7 separate regions of the Homo sapiens genome follow, and all the other regions are linked to region 4. Evidence: promoter capture Hi-C in 16 types of primary human blood cells and fetal thymus (Javierre and others, 2016). All regions are on one chromosome and are shown on one strand. Each heading gives the region's core, a stretch centred on a gene start or on the middle of the fragment in contact. The rest is flanking DNA. Distances are from core to core; before and after follow the strand shown.

The links. The method cuts DNA at HindIII sites, captures the fragments that hold promoters and counts their contacts. A CHiCAGO score of 5 or more calls a contact.
Region 1: a contact is called between a fragment that was not itself captured here and the fragment with the promoter of BCORL1 in region 4, in 1 of 17 cell types (non-activated CD4 T cells). The highest score is 5.5, in non-activated CD4 T cells.
Region 2: a fragment that was not itself captured here is called in contact with the fragment with the promoter of BCORL1 in region 4 in 7 of 17 cell types (M2 macrophages, total B cells, non-activated CD4 T cells and 4 more); the score reaches 9.4 in M2 macrophages.
Region 3: a fragment that was not itself captured here is called in contact with the fragment with the promoter of BCORL1 in region 4 in 1 of 17 cell types (naive CD4 T cells); the score reaches 5.7 in naive CD4 T cells.
Region 5: a fragment that was not itself captured here is called in contact with the fragment with the promoter of BCORL1 in region 4 in 14 of 17 cell types (non-activated CD4 T cells, total B cells, M2 macrophages and 11 more); the score reaches 18.0 in non-activated CD4 T cells.
Region 6: a contact is called between a fragment that was not itself captured here and the fragment with the promoter of BCORL1 in region 4, in 11 of 17 cell types (M2 macrophages, activated CD4 T cells, M0 macrophages and 8 more). The highest score is 7.9, in M2 macrophages.
Region 7: a fragment that was not itself captured here is called in contact with the fragment with the promoter of BCORL1 in region 4 in 2 of 17 cell types (total B cells and M1 macrophages); the score reaches 5.6 in total B cells.

Annotation. Positions count from the first base shown.
Region 1 is chrX:130,348,463-130,351,468 of GRCh38, forward strand. It overlaps SLC25A14 (solute carrier family 25 member 14), which reads left to right. Exons shown (of 11, transcript NM_001282195.2): 5 at 789-883; 6 at 2,184-2,269. Among named protein-coding and RNA genes, the nearest start is that of SLC25A14, 10 kb to the left of the region's middle. The HindIII fragment of the contact is 845 bases long and covers 1,213-2,057 here.
Region 2 is chrX:129,540,990-129,544,466 of GRCh38, forward strand. All of the region lies in intron 2 of OCRL (OCRL inositol polyphosphate-5-phosphatase), which reads left to right. Among named protein-coding and RNA genes, the nearest start is that of OCRL, 2.5 kb to the left of the region's middle. The HindIII fragment of the contact is 2,232 bases long and covers 135-2,366 here.
Region 3 is chrX:129,519,937-129,523,423 of GRCh38, forward strand. SMARCA1 (SNF2 related chromatin remodeling ATPase 1) reads right to left here. Exons shown (of 25, transcript NM_001282874.2): 1 at 3,261-3,487. The coding sequence starts at 3,434. Among named protein-coding and RNA genes, the nearest start is that of SMARCA1, 1.8 kb to the right of the region's middle. The HindIII fragment of the contact is 434 bases long and covers 2,021-2,454 here.
Region 4 is chrX:129,981,168-129,984,237 of GRCh38, forward strand. BCORL1 (BCL6 corepressor like 1) reads left to right here and starts at 1,468. Exons shown (of 14, transcript NM_001379451.1): 1 at 1,468-1,595. RefSeq lists a silencer at 2,297-2,533. The HindIII fragment of the contact is 8,398 bases long and covers 1-3,070 here.
Region 5 is chrX:129,599,480-129,602,633 of GRCh38, forward strand. No RefSeq gene overlaps it. Among named protein-coding and RNA genes, the nearest start is that of APLN, 54 kb to the right of the region's middle. RefSeq lists enhancers at 1,112-1,612, 1,613-2,113. The HindIII fragment of the contact is 5,330 bases long and covers 1-3,154 here.
Region 6 is chrX:129,579,951-129,583,230 of GRCh38, forward strand. The region is part of intron 18 of OCRL (OCRL inositol polyphosphate-5-phosphatase); the gene reads left to right. Among named protein-coding and RNA genes, the nearest start is that of OCRL, 41 kb to the left of the region's middle. The HindIII fragment of the contact is 3,432 bases long and covers 99-3,280 here.
Region 7 is chrX:129,558,612-129,561,413 of GRCh38, forward strand. It overlaps OCRL (OCRL inositol polyphosphate-5-phosphatase), which reads left to right. Exons shown (of 24, transcript NM_000276.4): 7 at 22-142; 8 at 229-390; 9 at 1,939-2,040; 10 at 2,568-2,682. Among named protein-coding and RNA genes, the nearest start is that of OCRL, 20 kb to the left of the region's middle. The HindIII fragment of the contact is 2,612 bases long and covers 247-2,802 here.

The sequences.
Region 1 (3,006 bases), core at 385-2,884, 370 kb after region 4:
TTATGAGTATAAAGTTGTTTATACCATACTCTTATTGTCCTTTTAATGGCTGCAGGAATTGTAGTGCTAGTCCCTGTTTCATTTCTTATTTGCATCTTCTGTCTTTTTATCTTTGTGAGTCTTGCTAGAGGTTTATCAATTTTGTTGATTTTTTTTTAAAGAGCTAACTTTTTGTTTCATTGATTTTTCTCTATTTTCCTATTTTCAATTTCATTGATTTGTGCTTTTTATTATTTTCTTTTGCTTGCTTTGGGTTATTTTGCTTTTCTTTTTCTAGTTTCTTGAGGTAGGAGCATAGATTATTGATTTGAGACTCTACCCCCCCCCCCCCTTTTTTTTTTTTAAAATGCAAGCATTTCATGCTGTAAATTTCCCTCAGCACTGCTTTGGCTGCATCTCATACATTTTAATAGGTTGAATTTTGTTGTCATTTAGACCTGTGAATTAAAAAAAAATTCCTTTGACAGACACTTGGTCTGACCAATAGATTATTTAGATATATATTGTTTAATTTCTAAATGTTTGAGGATTTTTCTTATTGATTTCTGGTTTGATTCCATTATTGTCAGATAACATATTGTATATGATTTCAGTTCTTTTAAATTTGTTGAGGTTGGTTTTATGACCCAGAATGTTCAGTTTCTTGCTGAGTGTTTCATGAGTGCTTGAAAAAAATCATATTCTGCTGTTGTTGGGTAGAATGAGATGGGTAGTCCAAATAAGTAGGCTATCTAGATATGTATAATCTGAAAATGTTGAGAATAACTTTTTACTTTTTTTTTTTTCAGAATTGCTCCTGCGTTGCTAAGACAAGCATCATATGGCACCATTAAAATTGGGATTTACCAAAGCTTGAAGCGCTTATTCGTAGAACGTTTAGAAGGTCAGTATACTTACCCTCTTTTGAGGTGATACTCAAAGGGATTGTTGAAATCATGCTTAGTGAGAAATGTTGGTCATGAGGTGCCTGAGAATGGAGGAGAGTCACTGCAAAGACAAAGTGAGCTTGTTCTAACTTGGAATAAATCTTTGCAGAGGTGATATATGAATTAGAGAGACCTGTTCTTCAAATTTGTCCCTTTTCCTATCAACAAAAAAGGCATGTGATCATCCCAAAAGAAACATGGAACAATCTTGTCCAGAAAATTAATGCTATCTTCATCAATAAGAGGACTTCAACTGTAAGGCATTTTCTAGCTGGCAATTTTGATAAGCTTTTATTAGGCAGAATAATTTTAGGCTGTTTTCTAAATTCTGATGTACCTTTGGCTACCTTATGCATATTCAGCATTATCATATGTCTGTTTGCTGCTGTAGCATTTTCCATCATGATACTACACTAAATGGTTATTTTACCACAGGCCTGGGGCTGTTGGATGTTTGGGGACAGCTGGAAAGCCTTTCGGTTAGTAATGTCCTTTGAATCACTTTATTGTCCTAAAGTCAACTTTTTCTGAAGCCTTTTTTTGGGGATTGTGAAGGGTTCTCTTCCACCTCTTTCTGAAATATTTTTCTTTCATAGATTCTTCACTTGGGTTTATTTAGTTTCTATTTGTGGGGTCTTCATGGTGTGAAGGAGCGGTAAAGATTGAATTTCACTATAGAACAATGTGCTCTGTGGTTTCTTTGTTCTTTTTTCTCACTGAGGAGATTTAGTTCTAAATGATTGCTTTTTCATATTTGACTACAGAAATATTTTATAAATTAACAGAGGCTAGGAGAGATCTCAGGCCTATCAAAATTAATATTCAAATAAGTTTTTTGTATTAGACGTAAGATTTTCTCTTTTAACATTCAGTTCCTGAATCTTTAGAGTTGATGATTACCCAGAAAAAGACTTAAAAAGTATGTTCTTTAGATGTTTGAAAAGGTCGAAGGGGAAATACCACCTTCTGAATTTGTGTGTGGGATACTGATAGTTATGTAGAAGAAAAGGACGTGTTCCAGTGTCCTTTAGAAATAATGATGTTTTTAGAAATGATTTATATTTTACAAGTTTTAATATATTTTAGCACTGAATTGAGATCTAGAAATATTTGAGTTTCTTTATTTTCCTAAGCTTTTTGGTTCATTTCTAAAGTCATCTCTCTAACCAAGTTTCCCTTCCTCCAGTAGGTCAGTAGTATGTACTCAAACTGGTGCCTAATACAAGCAGACCTTTCTTTTTCTTTTCCTTTTCACAGATGAAACTCTTTTAATTAATATGATCTGTGGGGTAGTGTCAGGAGTGATATCTTCCACTATAGCCAATCCCACCGATGTTCTAAAGGTAAGAGAGATACAGTGTGATTTGAAAGGAGCATAACTTTGAGTCAGATTTGGGTTCAGATTCCCACTCTGTCACTTGCCAGCTGTAGAACCTTGGGCAAATCAGTTAACTGCATTAAGCCTCAATTTCATCATTTGAAAAATGAATATAATACAGTGTTTATAACATAGAGTTGTAAAGGATTAGCGATAATATATATATAAACTGCCTATCATTGTACTTGGTGTAGTAGATGCTCAATAAATGGCAGTCAGTTTATTATGATATGTGTTAATCCACTGGTCCTCACACTGGGGTATGCAAGACCCTATAGGTTCTTTCCAAGGGCTATGCAGTTTTATAGGAATCAATTTCCAGATCTCTTACATCCATTTGTACTCCATCCTAAAACTGGTACGAGAATGAATCTGTTCATAATAGCCCTTACTCAATTTTACAAAAGAAATGTACGTCCCCACCTATTCTAAATCTTGGTATGGTATGTTGACCTGTGGTATAACCTGGGATGCCAAACAGAGGGGTAAACTGAAATACAGTTCTTGGAGAAGCCTATTTTAGTAACCAATTTGGGTATCTTAAGTCTGTAATGCCTCTGTCTTTCCCTGTCTTATTAATATTTCTATTCAGGGTGAGATTTGGCTTTAAACATGGTATATTTTGGCCTGTATTGGAATATTCTGAATTCAGAACCAGAATAGTATAGGTTGGTGGTGCTGACTTGTTAAGAGTATAGTTGG
Region 2 (3,477 bases), core at 1-2,500, 440 kb before region 4:
TTCCAAGCCTCTGGATTGTGCTTGGCAGTGTGGCTCAGTGGAAGGACTGAATGGGCGGGGAAGCAGGAAGCCTGGGTTCTTAGTTCCTGCCCCTGCAACTGACATGTGTTGTGTAACGTTGGGCAAGTCAATAAAGCTTTCTGGGCCAAAGTTAACTCTTCAGTTTAATAAAACCATTAACTGCCTTACCTTACAGCCTTTGGAATTATAACTGGGGGAAAAATAAATGCGAGAGTGGCTTCCAAAAAGTAAAAGTGCTATGGAAATGCTTCATTGTTAACGTTACAGACTTGTCTTAACCCTATTCAGCTGGTTTCTCCAGTCTCCCCGTCCCCTTATCCCACTGGGTTGAAGGCATATTCATTAATTCAGTAATGGTTTAGTGTAGGCCAGAAACTGCCTCACTTACTGACTTTACTGTTAGAAAGAAAAGGTAATGAAATGTGTAGAGATAGAAATGACAGTATTTTATCAGTGTGTCACCTTCCTCTCTGCCATAGGAGCTCCGTAAATACTGTTGACTGATTGATCAAAAGATTATTTTGATAAGCTATCACCATAGCTGCTAACCTCACTCTATTGTCACTAATATCTTATCTCAAAAATATCCATGGTGACCATTACGTATCATAGGCCCCTATCCCTGTGTGCCCAAGACACCTCACTTGGATATTCATTGGCTTCTTGACATCATATTCCTTCCCAGTTTAAAAATTGTTCACTTAAATCTTGCCATCTCCCAACATTGGCTTCTGCCTAAAACCAATTTTCTCAGTCCCCACTTTTAGATCCTCTGTATCTATGCTGTCAGATTTACACGGAAGAAATTCCCACTGGCCCAACCTGCTCTTCTCTGAGACTATTGGTGCCACTCTAACTGGATGTCAGCTAATTCTGTGAAGTAGCTCTTTCATAGGTCCTGCTTAGTCAGCTCTACTGGGAAGTTCATCAAACCCGGATTTCATCAAACCCTGGAAGACTAGTTTAATGAAACTAAACTAAATTCAGAATTTAATAAAACAAAATTCAGCAGAAAAGTGGAACACCACTAACATTTCCAAAGGCTAGAGTGGGTTACAGAGAGGTGACCCTTGGGCAAACCAGTAAAACTTGTGTGCCTTGGTTTCCTCTAATGTAAAAACAAAATCATGAAGATTGAATAGAGTAGCTACATTGTTGAGATGACCACAGCCCAGAATCTAGTCCCTCGGATTAGTAGATTTGGAACTCTGTTGAGCTAATAAGGAAGTCGTGTGTTCCAATTCTGTGTAAGTTATGGGGGTATAGTTGGGGGTATATGTGGGGGTATGGGGCTGCTATATAACTAACATTAATATATAGGTAACACTATATAACAACTATATAACTAACAACTAATATAGTTGTTGCTATATTAGCAGTTTATATATAAACTATGTAAATAGTTTTAAATATATATAAACTATAGTTTTAAATACATATAAACTATAGTTTATATATAAACTAACATATAACTAACAACTAATATAGTTGTTGCTATATAACTAACATTCAATGGCTGCTTATGTGCCAGGTACTGTTCTAAGCCCTTTTCATTAGTTAGTTCATTTAATCCACATGTGAGGGTTACTATAAGATAGTAATATCATCATCCCCCTTTTATAGATACAGAAATTGAAGCACAGACAGGTTAAGTCACTTGTTTGCAATTAGGGAGTAGAATACCTGAGATCTGATCCTATGTAACATGTCTCAGAATTACACTGAGAAGTTTCTCTTGAAAGCATTTGCTGGAGACACCTAATACCATAATACCATCTGTAATCCTCATATTCTTGTCTCTCTGGTGTCTTTTCTGACTCGAGTGTCCAGAACTTTTTACTTTTGGCTTTTTTATCCTAGAACTTGAAGCCTGACTTAAATCTTTAGGTCTGTGGTTCCTACTGTCAACCATAGGAAATTTGCTTGACCAAAATTACAATTAAAAATCAGGGTTTTTTTGGAAACAGGGAATCAAACACTTAAGATTCATATTTTTCAAGGATAATAGATTATGACAAAACCTGTTTGACCTTTAACCTTCCTTGAACAAATCAAAGTGTTTCCTAGGGATAAGGCAGAGTTGGCATTCAGGATTTGTCACTCTTTTCTGTTTGACAACTACCAAATTCTGAATTCCATTGTTTTGCTGTATACCAATTATTTCTAATCTTTATATTCTGAAATGAATAATTACACTCAGAATTTTTATGCTTATTCTTAGCCCTACTCTTTTATTGTAATTTAGTGGGTAACACGTAGTAAATACTCAATAAATGTTGGTGAAATTCACTTAAATTCTCAGTTTATTTGTTTTGTAATAGTTTTTAACAGTACTGTCCAGATGAAGCTTTAATGCTAATGTTCAACACCATTTCTTGTTTATGTATTTTGAGATTTTAGTGGTTTGTGTTTATCTTCCTCAAAGTAAGCTCTTCCTCCTTAACCCTTGATTTCTCAGCCTTTTATCTGGTTTCTGGTTTCCATCTGGGTTTATAGGACTCTCCACTCAACTCATGAACTTTCCAGATGGAAAGGGGCCTGCCCCATATTCCTGTAATCACCTTAGAGTACAAACCCCTGCAAATTAGGCAAGAAGGATCACAGCAGAAAAACAGCATTAATACTTTTATTTCCCTTAGTTCTATCTAAGTAATTACTTATCCTATCCCAGGTTATCCTCTTCAAAGTTAACACATTTGAAAATGCAAAAAGCAAAAGCAACAAGCACCCCCAAAAGACAACAAAATAGAAATCAAACCCTTCAAAACAATGACATTTTAATGTCAGAAGTTGGACAGTTTCATTGAAAAATTCACCGCTGCTTATAGCTTAATTAAGCTAGTTAATTTATTCAGCCAGTATTTGTTGAGCATCTATTAGGCTGCAGACAAAACTGAATATGATCTGGTCTTTGCTTTCAAGGAGCTGAAATCAGTGAGGGGAAATAAATATAACCATAATGGAGTGTGTAAGTGTTCTATTAGAGGGGCAAACAAAGGCGATAAGGCTGCTGGTTCTGCTTGGGGGTACTGAGGACAGTTTCATGGAGGAGGTGATATTTGAGATGAAACTCGGAAAGAAACAGAGTGTTCCTGACAAAAAACTAAAAACAATACTTGAAGAGTGCTTGACTTTGAGAATGCTAGTTGACGTTCAGAATGGCTGTTTACCAGTAGGTCGTACCTTGATTCTGGACCACTAAGGATAAATAATAAATGAAAAATTAATATTTCAGGAGTACGTATGGATTTAGAAGTATGGATTTCATCTGGGGAGTCAGGTTTACTCATGTTTATGTAGAAATACCAGCGTAAACTTGGAAACCAGAGAAGAAACAAGGGATTTGAAGGCAATCCAGTTGTGATATCTGCCACCTTGTTGGTCACTGATATTTTGACCAATCCAGCTGGCTGAGCACCCCCTCTTACTCCTCCATGAACCTGAATGCTTGTTTGA
Region 3 (3,487 bases), core at 988-3,487, 460 kb before region 4:
AGAAAATTAAAGCTTTAATCCTAGAAAAACATTTTACCCATTACTTTTTTGCTTACCTTGCGGTAGACTACCATCAAAATCTAATTATATGCTAATTAAAATCCTAATCTTGAGCAGGGCTATTAAAAGCTGTGGGTAATTACTTAATTGGCACTATCTTCCACAACAAATTTTAAAATACCTACCTTCTAAACCTTCTCTCGTGTGTGTGTGTGTGTGTGTGTGTGTGTGTGTGTATTCTCAAAACTACATTTTTTTCATACAAGAAAAGATGAAAAGTGACTAAGAGACTCTAATGAATTCCTTTGGATTTTGTTATCTGAGTCTAGGTGCCATGAGAATGCAGCACAAGGTCAACAAAATGGCTTGTTTTAAAGACCATGACCTTTTTCTTGACGTTTTCATGTCTACAGTGTTGGGTAATCCAACCGTCACTTAAACCAACTAAATTCAACAACCAGAAAGTAAGCAAAAACACCTTTGAGTAGGTAAATGTCACAGGTCAATTCACTAATTCTCATCTACTGTATTCATCATGAAAGCGCTCTCATTCAGAAACCTATTTTCTTTTTATTTGGTAGACAATTCCACCAAGTTTGAAAATCTGGCTTCCCATGTCACCGAGAATACAAGCAACAGTAAATGACATGGAAAGATCACTAGATGAAGGCACTCTACAAGAAGACACGGCAGAAACCAAGGACGAAAATGTCTTCCACTGCAGTAGCATCACTGATTCTTGGTGTGCACGTGTCATTATTTCCCTCTCCCTGTTTTATCACTGACACTTTTGTATTTTACAGTGGTTTTCAAATGAGTTTATGGTTTTGTTACACCTATAATCTTTATCATAAACTAACATATTATTTCTGGTGAAACTAGAGGTGTTTAAAAAGTGATCGCTAACAGCCTGGCAATTAAGGAAGAAGACAGAAAATTTTTATTTATTTATTTATTTTGAGACGGAGTCTCACTCTGTTGCTCAGGTTGGAGTGCAGTGGTGGGATCTCGGCTCACTGCAACCTGAGCCTTCCGGGTTCAAGCGATTCTCCTGCCTCAGCCTCCCAAGTAGCTGGGATTACAGGTGCCTGCCACCACACTTGGCTAATTTTTTTTTTTTGGTATTTTTAGTAGAGACGGGGTTTCACCATATTGGCCAGGCTGGTTTCGAACTCCTGACCTCAAGTGATCTACCCGCCTCGGCCTCCCAAAGTGCTAGGATTACAGGCGCGAGCCACCGCGCCCGGCTGGAAAAATTATTTTTAAAAATCAACACAACACTGCAAGAGTCTGGTAGGTGGTTACTTAATTGAGAGGGAACAACCTGCGGGATTTCAGGTGCCTTTGTGTCACTGTCAAAGTACACTAACTGATGGCCATGAAGAAGAGGTTAATCTGCACTTTTAGTATGCAATTTAAAGTGTCAAGGTAGTATGTAATGTATTTCATTTTTTAAGGAAAAATTAAAAATAAAAATGGATATCCAGGAAGTTCCTGACATACAGCACCTCATTTCCCTGTCCTGGGTGGACAAATGAAGTACTGGTAGGGCAATTTCTAATGAGGCAAGAGTTGACAAATATGTAGGCATCAACTCAGTGTTTATATTATATAGCTTTTTTATTGGTCTCCCGTTTTTTCACAATACAAAATTTTATACAAAATTCAAAAATTTATACAATCTGGAAATTCGACAACCTCTCCTGCCATACAAAAGGCAGTTTGGCACTCACATTTGCCCAGTCCAGGGAATAAAAGGCACACAGACATTTCCGAATTTCACAACATTTGATTTATATTGATGCTTGGTATTACACCCACTTTTAACCAACAATATTGTCTTACTAATCCAAGTACCGCGTAGATCTTACAATGTGTATGTTTTCTACGGTTTTCATTTAGCACTACAATTGTCCTTCTGTTTAGTCAACCTTGTAATAGTAAAATATGTCACAGAAGCAACTGCTAAATTTAAAATTACTCTTCTCATTTAAGGCGAAAGGTGTTCATTTTCCTCAAAAGCTTTTCATTTGGTCGTATAGTATCATATAATGATTCAGACAAAGCCACTTGAGATCTCTAAAGCATAATTACCCACCTTTTTAAAATTGCGATATGACTACTCGTAAATAGGAAAAAATCCACACATAAACCATTAGTTATGCAATTTTATCATACATCAAAAATGCTTATGCCCCATCCTATTTTTATGTCAATTTTTCAACGTTTTATAGTTTTATTTGCATGTCTCGGGCCACACGAAATGTGCCTTATGGAGATAATACATATTTTCTGGATTGGCTTTAATATGTGTCAGAGCAGTTCCCTTACGTTAGAAGCAGCTCATCTTGGCGACGCTGAGTTTTTTAAAAATTAAAGGAGAAAAAAAAAAAAAACCTGTGTGTGTCCAGGAGCCAGCAGCGCCCACTAGGAGAGGGAGGCGGAAGCCTGGAAAGCTTGGGGCCGGATTGAGGGACCATTGGGGTGGCCCTGGAGTGAAACCCTATACCGTCGGGGGCGGGGCAGAAGAGGGTGAGGGTGCAGATGTTGGAAATTTTCCTAAGCCAGCGTCCACGGTTCCTCAGTTTGGGGGGGCGGGGGGGTACGACGCAGAGAGCTCCTTTCCTCGGGGTGACACCCCCACCTCGGCAGGCGGGGTTCAAACGAACAAGGGATGGTTTTTTTCCTGCCATCCAAAAGACCGACATTGCCAATGAAAGAAAGAAATGTCTTCCCTGTCACCCTCCACCCAGCAACCACCAGCACCTTGAAATTCAAATTACAAAAAAAGCCCCAGCAAAACCCCTTTAGCGCGAGTGTGGGATTGAAGGGCCCAGATTTCCCAGGCAGAGGCCGACGGGAAGGCGGGGGGAGAGGGAGCGAGCGAGAGGAGAGGGAGAGGCGGAGGCTTTTTCCTGCACAGCCCCATCCCCCACCCCGTTACCCGAGTTCCGGGAAGGTGGAGGGGGTCGGGGGCTGTCGAGGGGCTCCCGAGCCCCCAGGCCCCGGGAGAGCGGGCACCCCTCCACCCCGCGCCGCTCCCGCCCGCGCCCAGCCCCGCCCCCGTCCTCCAGGCGGCGAGAAGGAAAGGGGGAGGGGAGCGAACGCCAGGCGGTTCCGCCGCCGACCCCCGCACCCGCCGCCCCTAGCCCCGCAAAGCTCCGCGGGTACCTGTCGGCGCCGAAAGGTCAGGGTTTGGGCCCCTCAGAGGGGCCAGGCACAGGATTTGTCCACCACACACACACCCCCTTCCTATTTACCTCCTTCTTCTTCTCGCCCTTCTCCGTGGCCGCGGTGGCTTCGGTGGCCGCGGCGGCCGCTCCCTCCTCCTGAGAGGTGGACGGCCCGGGCTGCTCGTCCTCTATGACCACGATAGTGGCGGTCGCATCCGCGGCTGCCACGGTGGCTGCCACTGCGGCAGTGTCCTGCTCCATGCCGTGGGAGCGGGAACGAGTAGGGGGACAAGGCAGGGGACGAGGGCTCCTGG
Region 4 (3,070 bases), core at 218-2,717:
AGCGAGGAAAGACACAGTCTGCGATTGTGCCGCACCCCCCACCCACCTCTTAGCATCTGGATTCTGCTCTCGTAGTGGGGGCCGCGGACCCTCCCCGCCACAGTCCTTTTACTCTCCAGCACTCCCACCGCCTTCCCCCTTCTTCAGCCATCTGACTCTCCTAGGGGTATGTGTTTTTGGGGGTGGACGGCGACGGGGGTGGGGGATACTTTCCTTCCCGTGGCGGCAACCTAGTTCGTATCTTATTCCTACAAGGTAGCGTCGCTTCGAGTCGCATGGACATTGGGGTTTAGATAATTTACCCCCCACCCAAGCGATTTAATGGCTTTTAAGCAAAAGGCGAATACCTGGATTTCCATGGGAGGGATGAGGTTTGAAGATTGGGATTCACCCCTAGCTCACTTCCACTACCAACCCCTCTTTCTTGTGAGCCACTTCCACGGGTATTCAAATCTGGGGGGGAGGGGGGACGGGAGTATTAATATGCTTCTCTATTTCTACACAGGGTCGGCGTGGCGAAGGACGGCTAGCCTTGGAGGGAAAGTAGCCACCAGTCCAACTCGGGTCGCCCCCACCATTATTTCGGTGAGGGGGCAACGCTAAGAAGGGGATACTGGTGGGTAGGGGCCCAGTATAAGGGAGGGGGCTGGGTAGTCGTCCCCAGAAGGACTCCGTGTCTTGGCGGGGAGAGAGAGAGGCGAGCCCCGGCTTCAGGGGAGGGGTTCCGGGGAGGGAGATGGGGGGGTGGCGACGACGGTGGGGGGGGGAGCGGGAAGAAGGGGGAGTCACGCCCTGCCTGCAAGGGGAGCCTCCCTCAGGCCCCTGGGAGAAGGGGACTGAATGCGTCTGTTCTCCGCTGCCCGGCAGAGGAGATCTGGGGTCTCGAGATTTGCACACTGGATCGGCACCAGTGGCCTGAGAAAGTCAGGTCGGGGCATAAGGTGGAGAACGTTGGAAGAAAGAGAGAGAACCCTTTGGCCGCGGCTCACTGACCCTCTCCCTTCCTCAACCTCCCCCTTCGAGGGGCGTCGAGGTGGGGGGGGACGTGGGGCTCCTGCAGCCCCGCAGATTGAGCGCCTCCGCCTCTCCCAGGAGTCTAGCTTTTTGCCCGGCTTGCTGCAGCCACTGCTGCCTCCCTCTCCGGAATCCGCTCGGTCCTCTCAGCGATCCCCTCCTCCTCTCCTCCCCTCCCAGTGTCACCGGGGCTGCTTGGCTCTGCCCCCTTCGCCGCCGCTTGCTCCCTGCTTTCGTCCCTCCCTCTCTTGCTCGCTCCCTCCCTTCGCCTCCTCCTCCCCATTCCCCCCCACCCGCGTAGGCCGCATTCTGGGAGTTGTAGTCCGGTGGAGCGGGGGTTGGCGCCGCCCGCGGACCCAGCCGGACTCCACTTCCCGTCGAGCCCTGCGACCGGCACCCACTCCACCAGGCTTCGCTCGCACACAGACACACACACACACCGCTCTCCCCCTCACTCTTTCGCTCGCCGCGGCTGCTGCCAGTGTGTGGCTCTGTCTCTCCTCCGCTTTGCTGAGCCCTCCCTTCTTCCTCTCAGTTCCTAGAGTCCGACCGCCGCCGCCGCCGAGAGAGAGGAGAAGGAGGTCGGTGGCGATAAGGGGCGGAGGGGGGCATCAGATCGGGGCAGTATTAGGCGGGTGGCGGTTAAGAGGGAGTAAGAGGGAGCCCGGGTGGCGGCCTGAGCCTCCCCGCGGAGCCGACCCGGGAACAGGTGCGTCTTTTTTCTCTCTCCCCCAATCCCTCCACCCCTTTTGACTCCCCGGCTTTTTCGTATCCCCCCACCCGCTTCTTTCTATCTTAAGCCTTTCTCCAACCCTGTTCCTTCTTTTCCCTGCGGCCGCTCGGCTTGCCCCCCGGGGGCGCCGTCCTCTTCGTGTCCCCGGACGTAGCGCTCCCTGGAGCTGGGTATGTCTTCGCCCCTCCCTTCGGGACAGCTCCCTTCCACTTCCCACCTTCGTACCCCATCCCCTGACTTGCCCTACCCCCTTCTCGACCCCCTTCTCTCTTAGCCAGGTGAGACTCGTTCGCCACGATCCAAGAGAGTCTTCTTCCCGGCTGGGCGGGGGTCTCCATGGAAACGGGGGTCGGTTGATCCTGGGGGGGAAACCATAGGAATTACCCCACTCCTCGGAAAGGGAGGTGGAGGCTATGGTCTTGTTAACTACCTGACTCCAACCCCCGATCCAAGGATCCGACGATCCGAAGGGAGGCTGGCTAGCAGGGCAGGGCGAGAAAAGGCTTTTTTTTGGGGGGGGGGGGTGTCCGTGATGAAGTGTTGAAGAGACCGGGAGAAAATGCCCTCCAACCTCAGAGGGGAGGTGCGACGGGTGCTCTTCAGGGCTGCTTTCTTCCCGGCGCTGGGGTGCGGGAATCGTAGGGTAAGGGGTACCCCTAGGTGGCGGCGGGGCCTGGGTTCGGGAGTGGGAGTGCTGTGATGGGGGCAGGGGCAATTATCCGAGTCCCTGGAAAAAAGGCGGGGGATGACTTCGGAGCGCCCTGGCTCCGCTGCCCTCGCTCTAGGGGCGGGGGCCGCCGGGCCGGGCGCGGCGGGGAGGGGGCTTAAATTGAAGGAAGATGAGATCGGGGGCAATTCATACTAGCACCGGCAAGCCAGAGGGGAGATCCGGCGTGCAAGCCCTCCACCCGCTTCGCGCCAGGCCTGGAGGCAAGGGGTCGGCGAGCGAAGCCGAGGGCTGGAAGGAGGGAGGCTCCGGTTACGGGGCCGGGTTTCGGGATCAGGGGCAATCCCCCGGCCCTTGGAGAAGGAGGGAGAGGGATGGCCGCGAACCCCAGGGCTCCCCCACCCCGGGTCCTAAGGGGCGTGAGGGACGGACAGCAGGCCCAGCGGAGCTGGATTCGAGCGGATCGCGGCCGGGGAGTGGGAGGGCTTAGTGGTGGGCTTCGGGGGGAGCAGTCCGGCGGCGGGGCGGGCGGGCGGGGCGTGGGGCTCCGGCGGGCGGCGGGGCGGGGCCGGGGGCGGCGCTGCTGCCGCCGCCGCTGCCGCCGCCGCCGCTGCTGCTCCTGCTGGGGCCGCCGCAGCCGTTGCCGCCGCCGCCGC
Region 5 (3,154 bases), core at 334-2,833, 380 kb before region 4:
GTTGGCCAGGCTGGTCTCAAACTCCTGACCTCGTGATCTGCCCTCAGCCTCCCAAAGTGCTGGGATTACAAGCATGAGCCACCGTGCCTGGCCCCTGTTTTGTGCTTTTTACCATGATTAACATTTTTTTTTTATCTTAAGTGATTTTCCAAAGGCAAGTCTGATCACATCACCCCTCTCTGGGTCCCAGAATTCTTACCTGGACCCACAAGCCTTGGCTTGTCTGCTTGTCATGGACTCAAGCCTCCTCCCACATCCTGCCATCCCCCATTCTTTCAGATGAGATGAGGCACATTCACGGTGGTATGGCCGTAGACCCATCCCCCATTTTTTCAGACTGGACTTCTGTCCTTGTCTGCTCCTTGCTCCCTCTCACCACAGAGCCAACTCCTCCCAAGGCCTCAGTCTCTGCGAAAACAACACTTTCTCTGAGGAGCTTTCCCTGGCCACCTCCTAGCCTAGGCTGTAACATGTCCTTGTGACACGCTCTCCTTGCACCCTTTCCTCTCCTTCACTTTGTAATTACACATTTATTATTTGATCAAGGTCACTCTCTCCCACCAGCTCAGGAACGCTGCTGAGGCAGAGACCACATCTTTTCCTCCCCTTACTATCATATCTCCAGCAGCTAGCCTGATGCCTGGCATCCAGTAATCTTCATCATTGATTATTCCAGTGTTGGCAAAGGCAAGGAAAAACAAGCCCGCCTGCTGCTTGGACAAGAGTAAATAAGTGTCACCTTTCTAAAAGCAATGTGGCAACATGCATTAAGAGCCTGGAAGCATTCACACTCGTAATTTCACTTCTAGGAAATCACCCTAGAGGAGCGCAATGGCGTAAGTCCACCCCTGTTCATCTCAACATACTCATTAGCACAAAAAACAAAGCAATTTACATAACCTTCATCACCAGAAGAAGGGTAAACACATTGTAGATGTTTATGGATATATTATGGCGCCTTTTCAAATAATGTTTTTGAGGAATTGTGATGTGGAAAAATGTTAGGATATAACATGAGGTGGAAAAGGCAGCATATAAGTAGGTATGTACCTAATGTTCCTAAATTTAAAATATCAGATATAAAGATAATACATAGGCACAAAAATAGTGGAAGTCCATTCTCCAAACTGTTAATAGCAGTCACCCCTAGAGGGTGGCATCATGGGCAGTCGTGGCTTCAGAATGTCTACATAGGAGGGTTTAGAAACCATCGAAAGGTAGGCTAGGGGATTCGTCTTGAAGCTGCAAGATGGCCTTTGCTTAGCAAGCAGGGTTTTGCCTTACACTGCATCTATATTCAGAGTCACTATGGGGGTGCTGATGGAGATTAGGATAAAGCCCCCAAGCCACTCTCTGGAGCCAATCTCAATTTTTTTTTTTTTTTACTCTTATTTATATGTCTGGTTTTCTAAATGCTCTACAATGAAGATGTATGACTTTTATAATCAGAAAAAGATTAAGGAAAACATTATTTCATGAAAGAAAGGCACTTCTGTGTGTTGGGATGAATGAACACAGTGTCCTGCTCAAGCACATAGGCGGCTGGACAGGGCCTTGCCAGCACAGTCGCTCACCGCAGCTCCCTCACATCACAAGCCTGCCCTCTCCCTCGCACCCGCAGGCATCTGTCCTCCAGCTGCTGACACAGCTGGGCAGCAAAGGTCCCATCTTGACTGTGCACCTCGGAGGCAGCACCGTGGAGCATGGAGTTCTAAGGCATGTCCACGGGCCAAGCACACTTGTAAAGGCCATTTGACAACAATGGGCTATACCCCTCTACCTCTAACGGTGGCCCTGGCTTTGAAGAGCAAGGATCGTTTTCTGATTGTAGCTGTGGCCACTAGATGGCAGAGGAGAATGACGGTTTCCAGTTGTATAATAAAATTGGTATTTAAAGCTGCAGTTACTTTTCTTATTTCATGATCATTTCTATTTTGGGAAATTCGGTTGACTTTTCTCCTTACAGTCTCTTACTTATGGCCTTAAAAGTCCACAAAAACAAAAACTTTTTTTTTTCAGAACTAGGTTAAAAGTATCTAAAGTTCATGGAAGTTTCAGCACTCTTCATTGAACACAGGTAGAATTAAATCACATTTTCCTCTCTTGCCTCTTTCACTGTCCATCAATGTTTCAAGTTATTTTGAAAGTGTCAACAATGGTTGGGAGGTGATCTCACTGCTGAAAGGTAATGACTTCGATCTTCTCTGGAGAGGGGTCAGCTGGGAAGGAACGATGGAATCAATCGAGGCAGTTGGAGAGGCGGGGAGAAACACAGTTGTGACCTGGGAAGAAACAGACTAATCCCTGGCCAGAAGATGGCACAGCAAAGTGGAGAGGAAGGAGACCAAAAGGGAATGGGGCTTGTTACAGGTTCAGTTGTATCCCCCCAAAATCGATATGTTGAAGTCCTAATCCCCAGTACCTGTGAATGTGACCTTATTTGGAAATAGACTCGTCACAGATATAATTAGTTAAGTAAGATGAGGTTATACTGGGAGTAGGGTGGGCCCTAATCTAATATAACTGGTTTCCTTATAAAAAAGGGAAATTTGGACAGAGACACACACACAGGGAGAACACTGTGTAAAGGCAAAGGCAGGGATCAGGGTGATGCATCTCTAAGCCAAAGAATGCCAAAAATTGCCAGCAAACCATCAGAAGCTCAGGATGGGCATGAGACAGATTCTCTTTCACAGCCCTCAGAAGGAACCAACCCTGCTGACCTCGATTTCACACTCTGGCCTCCAGATCTGTGAGACAACATGTTTCTAAGCCTCCCACTGTGGTACTTTGTTACTGCAGCCCTGGGAAACTAATACAAGGATTTTGGAGCCATGGAATAGTGGTAAAATCGTAATAGAATTTCTTCACTCACTTCTAGGACTGTTGGACCTGATACGTGGGGGTGATGGCTGAAGGATAGAAGTTTCCTCCTCTACCATTCTATCATCCCCTCCACAATCACATTTCTCATTTCTTTTCTTTTTTTTTTTTTTCTCTCTTTTTTTTTTTTTGAGACAGAATTTCGCTCCTGTTGCCCAGGCTGGAGTGCAGTGGCGCGATCTCGGCTCACTGCAACCTCTGCCTCCCAGGTTCAAGTGATTCTCCTGCCTCAGCCTCCTTAGTAGCTGGGATTACAGGCACATGCCACCAC
Region 6 (3,280 bases), core at 565-3,064, 400 kb before region 4:
TGGAAAGTCGTTTAAAGTGACTGCTATGAAGGTTGTAGTTTGTATTAACAATAGGTTCCTTTCCTATGTTGTTTATTCAAGCCCTTATATGCTATAAAAGCTTATTGACTGACCAGCTAATCCCTATAGAAATCAGAATCAGCCTGTTTTCATTTTAATGAATATTTGATACATGTAACATTAACATGACTGAGAAATAAGTTTAGCACATAAGAATAAAGTGAACTAGGAAGGTGATTTGGAGTTAGTTATAGAAGTATTTTCAGTCAAGTCCAAGTACTTAAGAAACACTTATTAATATAGTGGGTGAGCAGGCTCTTCCAGGCTTAGAGGACATCTTGAATAAAGGGTAGAAGGTGAAAGTGAAAAGACCATGTATGAAAAACTGTAAGATTTCCCTGGGACAAGTGAAGATCAAGGATAAGAATGTATGAAGCTGGTTAGGGAGAATGGGGCAGGTGGTAGAGAGTCTTGAAGTCAATAGATAAGTTTATGCATGAGCCAGAGGGTATCTAGAACCATCAGAAGGGTTTGCTGATTAGTATGAGGTTGCAAATTGATATAGTTGGAAGAACATTCTGGTGTTACTTGTAGAATGGACTAATTGAAAGGAGACAAGACTTGAACTTGCCAGATGTGGCTAAGTTGTAAATACGGAGATGAAAAAAGTTGAGGGATGGGTAGAGAAACTATATTTGCTTGGGGACATATCTGTTGGGAGAACAATATCAAAAGTTTGAAATAACAGGAATAACTTGTTAATTTGTCCGTAGTGTTTTTTTCACTATGTTTTTACTTTGTCTTACTAATCTAACCATCCATTTCTTACTCTGTTAAGTATATGGCTTGTATTTCTTCTCTATTTCATATGAACTAATCCTTTTTAGAACTTCATTTTCCATTCAGTTTTCGGCTATTTATTTATTTATTTTTGAGATGGAGTCTTACCCTGTCGGCCAGGCTGTAGTGCAGTGGCACAATCTTGGCTCACTGCAACCTCCATCTCCCAGTTCAAGTGACTCTCCTGCCTCAGCCTCCCGAGTAACTGGGACTACAGGCGCGCGCCACCACGCCTGGCTAATTTTTGCCTTTTTAGTAGAGATGGGGTTTTACTGTGTTGGCCAGGCTGGTCTTGAACACCTGACCTCAGGTGATCCACCCGCCTCAGCTTCCCAAGGTGCTGGGATTACAGGCGTGAGCCACCGTGCCCGGCTATGCTTTTTATTTTTAAATTTGCATCTTCCACCTCTAATTGACTCTTTTATTTTAGCTGCATTTACCACGGGGAACAGTCTTCTGAGGGTGAATGTTGGGGTAAAGAATGATTTGCATTGCATTTGCTATGTGCCAGTGTTGTCCCACTGGGGAAATCCTGAACTAAGTTCTCTTTTTAAATGTAATCCATATATAGCCTTTTGCAGAGAATGGGCATCTCTGCTCTTTAAAATTGGTTGAACTAAGTGATTCATAGTAGAAACCTTAGGATTATTATAGGAGTAAGCTGTTTACTAATAAAGGTTAAGTGATGCTTCTGTTTTCAAAATTGAGACCAAGGTTGAATTCAATGTAATTTCTATGTTGTTTCTTTGTGCCTGTACCTAGAGAAGTAAATCTCTTGTCCCTCCATCAGTATTTAATCAAAGTCCTTTTGATTCTTCTTTCAGAATTTTCTCTTGTATTCATTCATTTGTAAGTGTATGTATATACCTTTTATTATATATATATATCCTTTAATATATATACTTAGAAATTATATATATATATATACACACACCTGTGTGTGTGTGTGTGTGTGTGTGTGTATAAAATTTTCCATTATTAAGATGTTTACCTTCTTCTGCTTGACCTACCTCGGTAGCCTTTGAATGATCCCTTTGTCTTTCTCTCTCTCTCTCTCTCTCTCTCTCTCTCTCTCTGTCTCTGTCTCTGCCCTTCATTTTTTCCTATTCAGGGCTGTCAGATTGATCTTTCTGTACTACTGCTTTGGGGCCTATCACTTCCTTGCTTAAAGGTAGTCAGTGGCTTCCCCATGCCTGCTGAATACAATCCAAATGCCTTAATCTGTCATGCAAGGTCCTCCTAAGTCTGACTTCAACATACCTTTTCAGATTTATTTCACACTATTTTTCTTGGCATTCTCCATGCCCCCCACAAACAGATGACTAACTTCTTCCTAATATCAATTTGTGATTTACTGTCTCTGTGCCTTTTGTTTATTTCTGCCTCTTCCACTTGTAATATTCTCTCCCCATCTCTACCCTTTAAAATTCTGTGAGTCTTTTAAAGGGCTAGCAATGATTTATTGAGAACTCGTATTCATGAATTATAACAATACCAGTCTGTAAACTCTGGAACTCCTCACCCCAACTCAGTTGCAAATCAGAGTCAGGGACAAACCAGGTCTTTCTCCTTTATCCTCATTTCTCATTGCCTTCCCCTGCAAAGGCATTTTAGCACAATGCCTTGTACTGGAGGATGGCTGCTGCTTAAAGAAAACTTTTTTGAGAGCCTGGTTCGACAGGTTAGTATACAAAATCTCTGTCTAGTTTTATTCATATCATGTATTAGATATTCATGGGAGGAAAAATATAAAATGTGTCAGATAGATTCTTCATTTGATAACAAGTCCTAAATTTTACAAGAGGTTCTAGTCTAAAATTGTATCAGATGTTGGGCACTCAAAATCAACTTGACATTAAAAGGTATCGTAATTATAGTACTATAAATATGTACCTTATAAAGACTATTCTAATTGCTTTATTTCATGTGATATTTAAGAGTCTAGATAAACCCACAAAAGCATGTTTAATTCGTGAAGTATCTACCAATATTAAAACGCCTAATCCCCATGGATAACAGTAGTGTGGGAGGAATGCATTCAGTATTACCACTAGGAATGCCAGGGAGCACATACTTTTCCTCCTCCCTCTCCACTCCCAGCTCCTGTGCATCTCAGACAGTAAGATTGGGATTTCTCCTTTTACCTAGCAGAACTAAGACATGTAATTTAGACTTGAGTGCTTAGTGGTCCATAGTCAGATTCGAAACAATCCAGGTTGGGAGTCACTGGGGAGGTATGAGGAACTTTGAGGAACCCAGACCTTCTGCTGGCATACTGCCCCATCACCCATTGGTTTTAGGCTGCTTCAAGGTAAATATTACTATCCCTATTTTAGAGATGAAGAAACTGAGGCTCTATGAAGTTTGGTAACTTGTGTGAGGGCTATACAAAATTGCCAAGAGGTGGAACGAAGATTTGTACCCAAGCCTGTCCAACACC
Region 7 (2,802 bases), core at 303-2,802, 420 kb before region 4:
TTTGGGGTCTGTGTCTTTCAGGGCTTCTTGGATTTGAAGACAATTTTTCTTCTATGAATTTGGACAAGAAAATAAATTCACAAAATCAGCCTACTGGGATTCATCGGGAACCCCCACCTCCACCCTTTTCAGTGAATAAAATGTAAGTCCCATGTGAAAACATATTTGCCTTGTAGGAGAATTATAGTTTAAACAATTTTACTTTTGAATCTCTCATTTATTTGCTAGGCTTCCACGTGAAAAAGAAGCTTCTAACAAGGAGCAGCCCAAAGTGACCAACACCATGCGGAAGCTCTTTGTACCAAATACCCAATCTGGGCAGCGGGAGGGTCTCATCAAACATATCCTGGCAAAGCGAGAGAAAGAATATGTCAACATTCAGACTTTCAGGTTAGTGTCTCTTTTGCTTCCTGAGTCTAAAAAGTTAGTATATATAACAGACAGTGGCCTGTTGATATTTAAGACATTAGCCTAATTAAGAATCAAAATATGATAAAAAGGAATGGTTGCCTGTTTCAAGCTCCTGTCTCTATGCTGGCCAATAACATGCATATCAGAAATAATGCAGATGCTACAGTTTCCCTTGGATTTTCTTTTTTTGTGTGTGTGGGTCAGGGTCTCTCTTTGTCACCCAGGCTGGAGAGCAGATAGATCATGGCTTACTGTAGCCTCAACCTCTCAGTCGTAAGCAATCCTCCCACGCCAGCCCTGCAAGTAGGTGGAACTACAGGTGCACACCACCACATCCAGCTAATATTTGTGTTTTTTATAGAGACTGGGTTTCACCAGGTTGCCCAGGCTGGTCTCAAATTCCTGAGCTCAGGCAATCCACCCGCCTTGGCCTCACAAAGTGTTAGGATTACAGGCTTGAGCCACCGTGCTTGGCCTTCCCTTGGATTTTCTAACTACTAATAATGCCATGTCTACTAATGTCTCTACTGAGTCCTAGAGAACCAAATCAAGGTCACATGTACTAGAGAATTTTCCCCTAGCACATTCCATAAGCAAGCGTGTTTATATATCTGGCCTGTTAAGTTTTTTTTTTTCAGCCAATATTAGAAAATTAAAGTCCATCATTACCACTAGCTCTTAACTTACTTACTTTGGTAAATAAAGAAAGTTTCACCCAGTCCTCTTGATTGGGAGGTCTATCTTGGGTTCTTTTATCTGTATTATTTTTTATTTCATCTTTTTTCTGGACTTGTGTGTGTATGCTGCATGTGAGGTACCATGTGGCATGTATCGCCAATGCATGAAGCAACACCACATTTCTTTGTTATTCATGAGCAGAATGTACCCTTCTAGTCCAAGATTCTAGTCCCATCTGCTATCCTGTCATACCTCATTTATTCTAATTCAGTCATAACTATATCCCTATGCTAAAACTTGCAGTTCCTCATATCCCCCACTATGCTTATATTTGTGTGTAAACAGTTAAGACAGTCATGAGTTTTCCCTTCTGCTTTCCCCCTTAATACTATGTCTGCCTCATCAGAATTTCCTACACAGATGTCCTTGTAATCCTTCAGGAAGTGAGTTCCTGGAGTCAACTATAGCCCCTTATAGAACATTTATCCATATTTGACTAGCTTACAGCATGAAGATACCTCTTTCCCATCCATAAGCTCTCCTATCAAGTATGAGTTTGGATGGAGCTTAATTGAAAGGAAATGTGGTATAGCAATTACCTTTGCATTTTTTAAAAATAAAGACTTGGTTTCCTTCTGTAGTTTTACTTAATGTAAAATTTAGAGAAAATAAGCCCACTGCCTTTGTGTTCTAGATGCAAAAGATCTTTCTTACATATGTGGCAAAACATTTTGAGGAATTATGTTAGCATATTGTGAACATACCTTTGTATGGAAGCGAAAAGAAAGAACTTCTGTTGGTTTATACTTGATCTTTGTTTTCAAATTATCTTTTCGTATTATGTATTAGATTTTTTGTTGGAACTTGGAATGTGAATGGCCAGTCTCCAGATAGCGGGTTAGAACCTTGGCTGAACTGTGATCCCAATCCTCCTGATATCTACTGCATTGGGTAAAGAACACTTCTGGAATTTCCTTTTGGCTATATGTTTGGTGTTCATTTACATGATGTTTTGCCTTTTTTAAAAAAGACTGTTGGTAAAACCTACTGTAGACTATACACGAGAGTTAACTTGCGGGTCAAATTTGTGAGAACAGAAATGAACAGATACCTAAAATGGTGTAAGGAAGCATCTAATTTTCTTGAAACCCGTAGGAATCTATATATTCTGCATAGAAACTAAGACTTGGGGTCAGTTCTAACAGTGACAGTTCCTAGGATATAAGAGCAAAGCTCTGCTGTTATCCTCTGTGGGAGGTATTTTGATTTATTTTTTGCATAGCTTATGAATGTACTTGTGGGAATTCTTTAGAAAAGAAAGCTACTTGTTCTTACTGATAACCTGGGTGAACAGAGCAGTTCTATAAAATTTATCTCTCTCCCATCTTTTTTTCATCTAATGTTTCAACATATGGGACAGGAGGTAGCCAGAGATAATTATGGGATATGTATAGATCTCATATCCCTTTTTTCCTCAGATTCCAAGAACTGGACTTGAGCACAGAAGCCTTCTTCTACTTTGAATCTGTGAAGGAACAAGAATGGTCCATGGCTGTAGAGAGAGGTTTGCATTCCAAAGCCAAGTATAAGAAAGTAAGCCGCATTTAATTATCTTTTTAAGTGTATGACTAAATAGGGCTCACCGGGAGTTATTCCATTATCTACAACTTGTTCCAAAAGAATAGTTTAATTGAATTCTTCTCTGTGTGTAAT